Linked DNA regions of Homo sapiens: region 2 is linked to region 1. Evidence: promoter capture Hi-C in human tissues and cell types (Jung and others, 2019). All regions are on one chromosome and are shown on one strand. Each heading gives the region's core, a stretch centred on a gene start or on the middle of the fragment in contact. The rest is flanking DNA. Distances are from core to core; before and after follow the strand shown.

Region 1 (3,987 bases), core at 963-3,462:
GCTGGTCTCGAACTCTTGACATCACGTGATCTGCCTGCCTCGGCCTCCCAAAGTGCTGGGATTACAGGCATGAGCCACCGCGCCCGGCCTGGACATTTCATATACACAAAATCGCAGAGGACACGGCCTTTGTGTCTGGCTTCTTTTGCTGAGCATAGTGTCGCTGTCGCTTGTGTGGGAATTTCTCTCCTCATGGCTGAGTTGTGCTACCTTACACGTCTACACTGCATTTTCTGGATCCATTCACCTGGCAACGGATGCTTGGGTTGTTCTTCCCTTTGGCTGCTGTGAGGAAGCATCTGTCTGAGTGTCTGTTTTCAACTCCTTTGGGTGGATACCCAGGAAGACAGTTGCTGGACCACAGGGTAATTCTATGCTTAACTTTTTGAGGAGCCGCCAGGCTGCGTCCCACAGTGGGCTCCTTGCTGATATTTTCAGGCACTCAGCTCTGCAGTCTGCACTGCCAGACACCTGGACCCGAGTGAGTCTGAGGAGCACGGTGCTTTGAGGAGCTGCTGGCTCTCCCAGGGGCTCCTTGATGGGGCTCCTGTTGCCTCTGCCTGTCCCGGGGCTGCTGCTGCTGGAAGCTGAGACTCATCCTCATTTTCCATGCAACCACGGGCAGGAAGGAGCCTGCACGCGACATGCCAGGGTGCGCGCTTACCCTGGGCCCCTCGTGCACCGGAGGAAGAGGCCTGCCTGGCTGTGGGGTAGGGTGGGGCCAGCTTCTGGGCTGGGCGCTCTGGCTTCCGGGACACCAGGCGGAATGGCTAAAGCAGGGAGACACAGGCCCCTGTAGAGCTACTGGGGCGGTGACAGCTGGACTTGGATGCTGGCTTCATGACCGTGCTCCCCAGCGTTCCCACCTGGTGATGTCCCTCCCCTGGAATCTGCCGGAGGCCCAGGACTTTCTGACCCACAGGATGCCCCAGGAATGACACCATATGACATCTGAGGCCAGGTCACACAAAGCCTGGCAGCTTGGCCTGGCCTGGTGAACGTGCTCTGGAGGGAGCCAGCTGCCACGGGAGAATCCAACTACCCCGAGACCACCATGCTGCAGGGAAGCCCACGCCAGCCACATGGGAGGCCAGCCGGCCCTAGCTGTTCCAGCCACCCAACTGAGGGCGGGGGCGAAGAGGCCATCCTGGACGGTCCACCCCGTTTGGCCTTCAGACGACTCCAGCCCCAGCTGCCACCTGATTACAACTGCAGAGAGACCCCAAGACAGGGCTGCCTGGCTGAGCTGGGCAACCCACAGGCCAGGCGATAACGGGGTGCTTTAAGGCACTAAGCTTTGGAGGAGTGTTTTGTTACACGGCAATAGTTAACAGGGAACTGGGAGTCGATTTCAAGCTCACATGGCCAGTCCACCCTGAGCATGTCCCCTGGGCCATAGTTCAGAAAGCAGGTGCAGGTCAGGGTTCAGGGCCAGTGTGGGCCTCAATATTGTTTCCTGCCCCCGTGGAGGCCGTGGTGGCATTTGGAGGGGGTCCTTGGAATCCATGCCCAAGGAAGCACTGAAGCTGCCTGGGACCCTCCCACACCCAGGAAGGGCCGTCATCAAGGTAGGACTTGCAGGGGGAGGGAAGGGCAGCTGGCTTTTGAGTGGAGGAGGGACAGCTCCAGAGACAGCGTGGCAGCTCCCAGCCACCCTCGCCACCAGGAACCTCGAGGGGAGGCCCCCTCGGCCCAAGCTCTGGCCCCTCCAGCTCCCTACTCTCCTCTCCCCTAGCTTCCTTCCAGGGCCCTCTCTCTTTGGTCTCCTGTGATTTTCTTCCTGGGCCCACAGTCCCTCCCTCCCTGGGGGGCTGCCCCGCCCCCGGCCCCGCCCGCGGACCCCTGGAGTAACTTAATCTCGGGGTTGTGGTCCATCCCCAGAGTGGGGAGGCATCCGCTCGGCCCATCGCACCCCAAAGCTGCAGGCCCTTAGCTCCAACCACCGCCAGGCCCTCCCTCCCCCAGCCAAGAGGTCCCGAGTCCCACCCAAGCACTGTACCCCGGCCCGGCTGGCCCCGCCCGGCGGCCGGGGTCGACCCGGCCAGTCCTTCCCCCGGGCGACGCCCACGTGCCTGCGCGGCTTCCCTGGCACCGCGGCGACCAGCGCCCCGAGGCGCGCGGCACCCGACAGGTGGCACCTGCGAGCCCCGCCCACCTCGGCCGCCCCGCCCACCTCGGCCGCCCCGCCCCGCGCGCCCACGGAGCATGCTCAGAGCCGCGGTCACGCGCCCGCCCGAAGGCTCCTGTCGGGACAGGGCGCCGCCCCGTGTCGGCCCCCGCAGAGCTCGCGGCCCCCGCCTGTCCGGGCGCCGCCATGGAGCGCATCGAGGGGGCGTCCGTGGGCCGCTGCGCCGCCTCACCCTACCTGCGGCCGCTCACGCTGCATTACCGCCAGGTGAGCCCGCGCCCCCGCGTCCCCCGCGCCCCCGCCGGCGGCCCGGCCCACGACCCGCGCCCCGCCCACCATCTTCCGCGCTGCCGGCCCCGCCCCGGAGCCCCGCCCCCGCCTCCCGCCGATCTCCCGGGCGGCCGCTTGTCCGCCCGCCGGATCGCGGGTTCCCAGACCCAGTGAGCCCCCAGGCCGGGGAGGGGCCGCGGGAGGGACATCTGAGGGGGCACCACTCATCCTTTCAAGGAAGCATTGCTGGGCCCCATCCTTCCCGCCCGCCCAATCCGACCCTCTTGGCAGTGGAACTCCTTGGTTGCCCTGGGGATCAGGGAAGGCTTCCTGGAAGTGGTGGCTTTCATGCTACCACTTGAAGGAGGAGATAGCTGGGCCGAGGAGGAGGGAGCAAGGAGCGCAGAGGCCGGGCGCAGGGAGGTAGGAGAAGGAGCTGAGTGAGAACTTGAGAGAGCCTCTCAAAGCAGGCTTCCTCCTTGGGGTTTTTTCCAGGGAGGGCACCTCCTTGGAGTCTCCATCTGCCTAAGCTCAGCCTTCCCCACCTCCTAGGGTGTCACCTTCTCCCATGCCAGGCCACGGCACAAGAGGCTGTATTGCCTCACTTAGCACCAGGCACATGGTAGGTTCACAAGGAATATTTTGTTTTGTTTTGTTTTTGAGACAGGGTCTTGCTGTCGCCCAGGCTGGAGTGCAGTGGCATGGTCACAGCTCACTGCAGCCTCAACCTCCTGGGCTCAAGCGATCCTCCTGCCTCAGCCCCCGCCCCAGTAGCTGGGACCACAGGTGCACACCACCACACCTGGCTAATGTTTAAATTTTTTTGTAGAGACGACGTCTCACTGTTGCCCAGGCTGGTCTTGAACTTCTGGCCTCAACCGATCCTCCTGCCTTGGCTTCCCAAAGCATGGGGATTACAGGCATGAGGCATATGTGTTGGGTGAAGGAGCTGCTGCCATCCTTTTCCCACATCCAGTGGATCACTGAGTCCCGGGCCGTCTTCCTCCAAGCCCAGCCCTGTCCAGTTAGGGCCCCACCTTTTGCTTGCATGCCCACCTGCCCCCAGCAGATCTCCCCTCTGCCAGAGCTCCTTCATGCCATTAAGGCAAAGACCACCTTCCTGGTCACAGTCAGTCCAGCCCCCCAGCCTATCAGGTCAGGTGGTCCAGGTCGCAGTGCCTCTCTGCCTGCCTGCCTCCCTCCCTCAGGGGGCATCCTGTCCCCCCCATCACATCCAGGACTCTGCCCCTCGCCATCCTGGAGAAGCCCTCTTGGCCCCCAGCCTGAGAGAGGCCCTGTGCCCCTCACTTTCCCTGTTGCGGGAGTCCTGTTGGCGCTGGAGGACAGGGGATCCCTCTCCCCAAGGCGAAGCTAAGCTGGTGGTGCTGGCAGGGGGCAGCTGGGATCAGTCGGGGTACAGCAGGTGGAGACATGGGGTCACTGCCCTTTTCCCTGACGTTGGCCATATGGGATGCCTGCTTGTGGCTGCACAGTCCCCACAGGGCTGGGTCTCAGGCAGCAGGTGCAGGCCCAGGCAGGTGCCCTCTGTGGCCCTGGTGGCAGCACTCTCTCCCTCACTCCCCGTGAAG
Region 2 (3,987 bases), core at 379-2,878, 180 kb before region 1:
CAACACTTGGCCGGGTACAGTGGCTCACGCCTGTAATCCCAGCACTTTGGGAGACCAAGGTGGGCGGATCGCGAGGTCAGGAGATCGAGACCATCTTGGCTAACACGGTGAAACCCCGTCTCTACTAAAAATACAGAAAATTAGCCAGGCGTAGTGGCGGGCGCCTGTAGTCCCAGCTACTCGGGAGGCTGAGGCAGGAGAATGGCGTGAACCTGGGAGGTGGAGGTTGCAGTGAGCTGAGATTGCGGCACTGCACTCCAGCCTGGGCGACAGAGCGAGATTCTGTCTCAAAAAAAAAAAAAAAAAAAAAAGAAAGAAATACCAACACTTTGGGAGGCCCAGATAGACAGATCACTTGAGGTCAGGAGTTCAAGACCAGCCTGGACAACAGGGTGAAACCCTGTCTCCACTAAAAATAAAAAAATTAGTTGGGTGTGGTGATGAGCACCTGTAATCCCAACCACTCGGGAGGCGGAGGAAGGAGAATCACTTGAACCCGGGAGGTGGAGGTTGCAGTGAACTGAGATCGCGCCACTGCACTATAAAAGTGAAACCACATCACGAAAAAAATTTAAAAATAAAAAGCAAAAAAAAAAAAGCACAGTAAAAATAAAGTATAAAAGACATTAAGTGGTGCCTGTGAATAGGGCACTGACGATGGCAGAGCCTGCGGGGCTGGAGGTGGCTCTGGACAAGCTGGTGGGTGAGTGAGTAATGCGAAGGCCTGGGAGGTCACCACGCACCGCCGCGTAGGGGTGGACGTGTGTGTGGATGCGAAGGCCTGGGAGGTCGCCATGCACCGCCGTGTAGGGATGGACGTGTGTGTGACCAGGCCCTGGACACCTGGGCCACACTGAGTTCACACAGGAATAAAGTAACTGTGCTATGGTGTTACGATGGCTACCATGTCATCAGGAGATAGGAAGTGTCCAGTGCCATCATATTCTCACGGGGCCACCCATTGATATGCAGCCCACACCTGACTGGGCTGTCATCAGCAGCCTGTGGCTGTGCAGACACTCATAGAGAGAAACTAAAGGGAATCCAGCATGCAAACGGTCAGGGTGACGCTCCCGCGCTGTCCTTACCCTGAGGTCTTCCTGTGTCCCACCATGAGCCGCCCGCCCCTCACAGGTCCCCTTGGGCTGGACCTGGCCCCAGTGGCATGTGCAGCTTGTGGCGAGGCCACAAGAGGAGTCCGGCTGTGCAAAGAAGCATGGCTGCTCCCTCAGCCACCACCGCACTCCCAGGTCACCCCTTCGCCTGGTCATGGGTCTGTCAACCTTCCTGTCTTGTCGGGGAGCCCACAGGCCCCAGCCTCAGACAATGGCCACCAGCTGGCATGCCTGCGTCTCCCAGGCTGCAGCCCCAGGGTGGTCTGGCCACACGAACGCCCACCCCTACACACTCCCTCTACGGGTGCTGGGGTGAGTTCTGAGAGCCACACCACAGGAGAAGGCCCCACGTCTGCCCCCACCGCACACCTGCCTCTGCGGAGCTGCCTCTGAGAGGGACCACCTGCAGTCAGCTCAAGCTTCCTGAGAAGTGGCAGGCAGAGGCGCGTGCCCAGCAGGCCCTGGGGCTGCGGTCACTCCTGATGGTCCCAGCCAGAACTGCTGGTCAGCCTGCAGACCTAAGCCACCCCACGCCGGCGTCCAGCTCCTGGCACCCATGAGGCCCGGCCCCTACCCTGGGCCACCTTGGACTCCACTTCCTCAGCCTCAGAGTAAGTCCAGGGCTCTGGGCCTCAGCTCACACAGAATGAGTGCCAGGTGAGGGCAGAGCTATGGTGTGGCAGGGGCCCAGGCTGCTCCCAGCCCCTCCTGCCCCCTGCGTGTGCACCCATTTGAAGGGAGATGACACCTGTGTCCCCACAGCCATCGCCTCCTGGTCTCCCCACAGCCTGGAGGTCCTGGGCAGGTGCCCCCCACATCCTCTCCCACCACACTCTCAGCCCTGGCCTCGAGTCCGCCCAACAGCCCGCCTCACCCCACCCTGTGCCCTCAAGGACCCTTCCCCACCGCCGAGCACTACTCTCAAATGCATGGCGCCAGCCTCACCGACACCCCACTCTCACGACAGTCCCTATGGCAGCACCCATGCCCTCACCCCCGTCTCAGGCGTGCAGTCTCGGAGCCAGCAAGCCCCCATGGCACAGCTGCCTGAGCCCAGCTGGTGAGAGCCCCCCACCTCTGCCACCTGTGTCCGTCTGTGCCCTCGGGGCTGTCCCGCCTCCGCAATCTCCCGTGCTCATACTCTCAACAAGCCAGCAACGCTCACAGGTGGGAACCAGCCCCAAAAGGTGGCAGGACACAGGGAGCCCATGAACCGCCCTGGTGCTCGGGGACACATGGGAGGACCCAACTAGGTTCTGGGACCAGGCTGCCAGTGGAAGGTGGAAGGATGCCCCGAGGGCCTGGAGGAGATGCTGGAGGGGAGAGCGAGGAGCAGTCAGATGACCTCGGCTTTGGAAGCCACAGGTGCAGGGCGAGGGAGCCTTGGGGTGGGGGCCACAGGCTCAGGGGCAGGGCACTGGAACTACATCCAGGGGTGGGGCTTTTCTGCCAAGAGTGAAGAACAGATGATGGGATTTCAAGCAGCAGACGATGTGGCTGGTGTGACCTGGGGTGGGGGAAGGTTGCTCCAGCCTCTCCCCGGGGATCAGGAGGGGACAGCCCAAGGCTGGGAGGACAGGTGAGGGAGGGGCCTGGGAGCAGAGGCCAGCATTCAGGGCAAGGACGTCAAACACAGAAGCACCAGTGCTGAGAGGGGCTGGGAGGAGCCGCCTGGGGCACTGGGGTGCAGACTGAGAGATGTGGGCGGAGCAGCCTGGGGCAGGAGCTCACAGGGACCGGCAGGGATCAGCAGGACATCACCTGCATGGCTACACAGGGACCAGCAGGGATCAGCAGGACATCGCCTGCATGGCTAATGGGAAACACAGGGACCGGCAGGGATCAGCAGGACATCGCCTGCATGGCTAATGGGAAACACAGGGACCAGCAGGGATCAGCAGGACATCGCCTGAATGGCTAATGGGAAACACAGGGACCGGCAGGGATCAGCAGGACATCGCCTGCATGGCTAATGGGAAACACAGGGACCGGCAGGGATCAGCAGGACCTCGCCTGCATGGCTAATGGGAAACACAGGGACCGGCAGGGATCAGCAGGACCTCGCCTGCATGGCTAATGGGAAACACAGGGACCGGCAGGGATCAGCAGGACCTCGCCTGCATGGCTAATGGGAAACAGAGCCTGCATGACCTCCCCACAGTGCCTGGACCCTCCTGCTCCACAGGAAGCAAGCGGTGGCTCCCAGGAGGCTCTCACAGCCCAGAGAGCATCCCTGAGCTACCTGTTCACCCATCGCTCAGCCTGCAGGAGGGAGGCTGGGATGATGGGCAGCTCCAGGCCACCAGAGGGGTCCCAGGGCCCTGGGAAGTGCAGCCTGGAGGCCCGGTCCACCCGTGCTGTCCGTGGTTTGCCGAAGGAATCGGGAAGACTGCAAAGCTTGTCTGAGGCCCTGCGGCGGCACGGAGAAGCGAGGCCTCGGGACGCCACTGCTGCTTCCTGTACCCTCCACGCTCCCATCTCCTGGGGTAGCAGGGAGGGCTGAGCCCAGAGTAGTACTTGGCACTTGTCCTGGATGCGTAAGTGGGGGTGTGTGAGGATCTGGGGGACCTAGCGCTTGACCTGGGAGACAGGAGGCCTGCAGGCTGGGCCTGGGGGTGTGGGGGAACCAGCTACAAGTGGGCACCCCCACTGTCCCAGCCCCAAGCCCCAGGAGCAGGGGGACAAAGTGGGAAGAAGAGGGGCTGGGGGGCTCTGGCATCTCCGGCTCCCAATGAGGGGCTGCGCTGGCTGACCTTCCCAGGCCCCAGGCAGGCAGCAACCCAGCTTCACATGCCCCAAGCACCACTCACGCCCGCAGCCCCTGGACCCCTGAACACAACCCCACGATGGGGAAAGTTCTGAAGCAAAAGAG

What was found. Contacts are between HindIII fragments. The study calls those that stand out against the background at their distance.
Region 2: a fragment that was not itself captured here is called in contact with the fragment with the promoter of NUDT14 in region 1 in 2 of the 25 tissues and cell types used here (H1 embryonic stem cells and thymus).

Annotation. Positions count from the first base shown.
Region 1 is chr14:105,179,537-105,183,523 of GRCh38, reverse strand. It overlaps NUDT14 (nudix hydrolase 14), which reads left to right and starts at 2,212. Exons shown (of 5, transcript NM_177533.5): 1 at 2,212-2,395. The coding sequence starts at 2,315. RefSeq lists a silencer at 2,043-2,512. The HindIII fragment of the contact is 11,467 bases long and covers 1-3,987 here.
Region 2 is chr14:105,355,912-105,359,898 of GRCh38, reverse strand. All of the region lies in intron 4 of PACS2 (phosphofurin acidic cluster sorting protein 2), which reads right to left. Among named protein-coding and RNA genes, the nearest start is that of TEX22, 41 kb to the left of the region's middle. The HindIII fragment of the contact is 5,071 bases long and covers 1-3,987 here.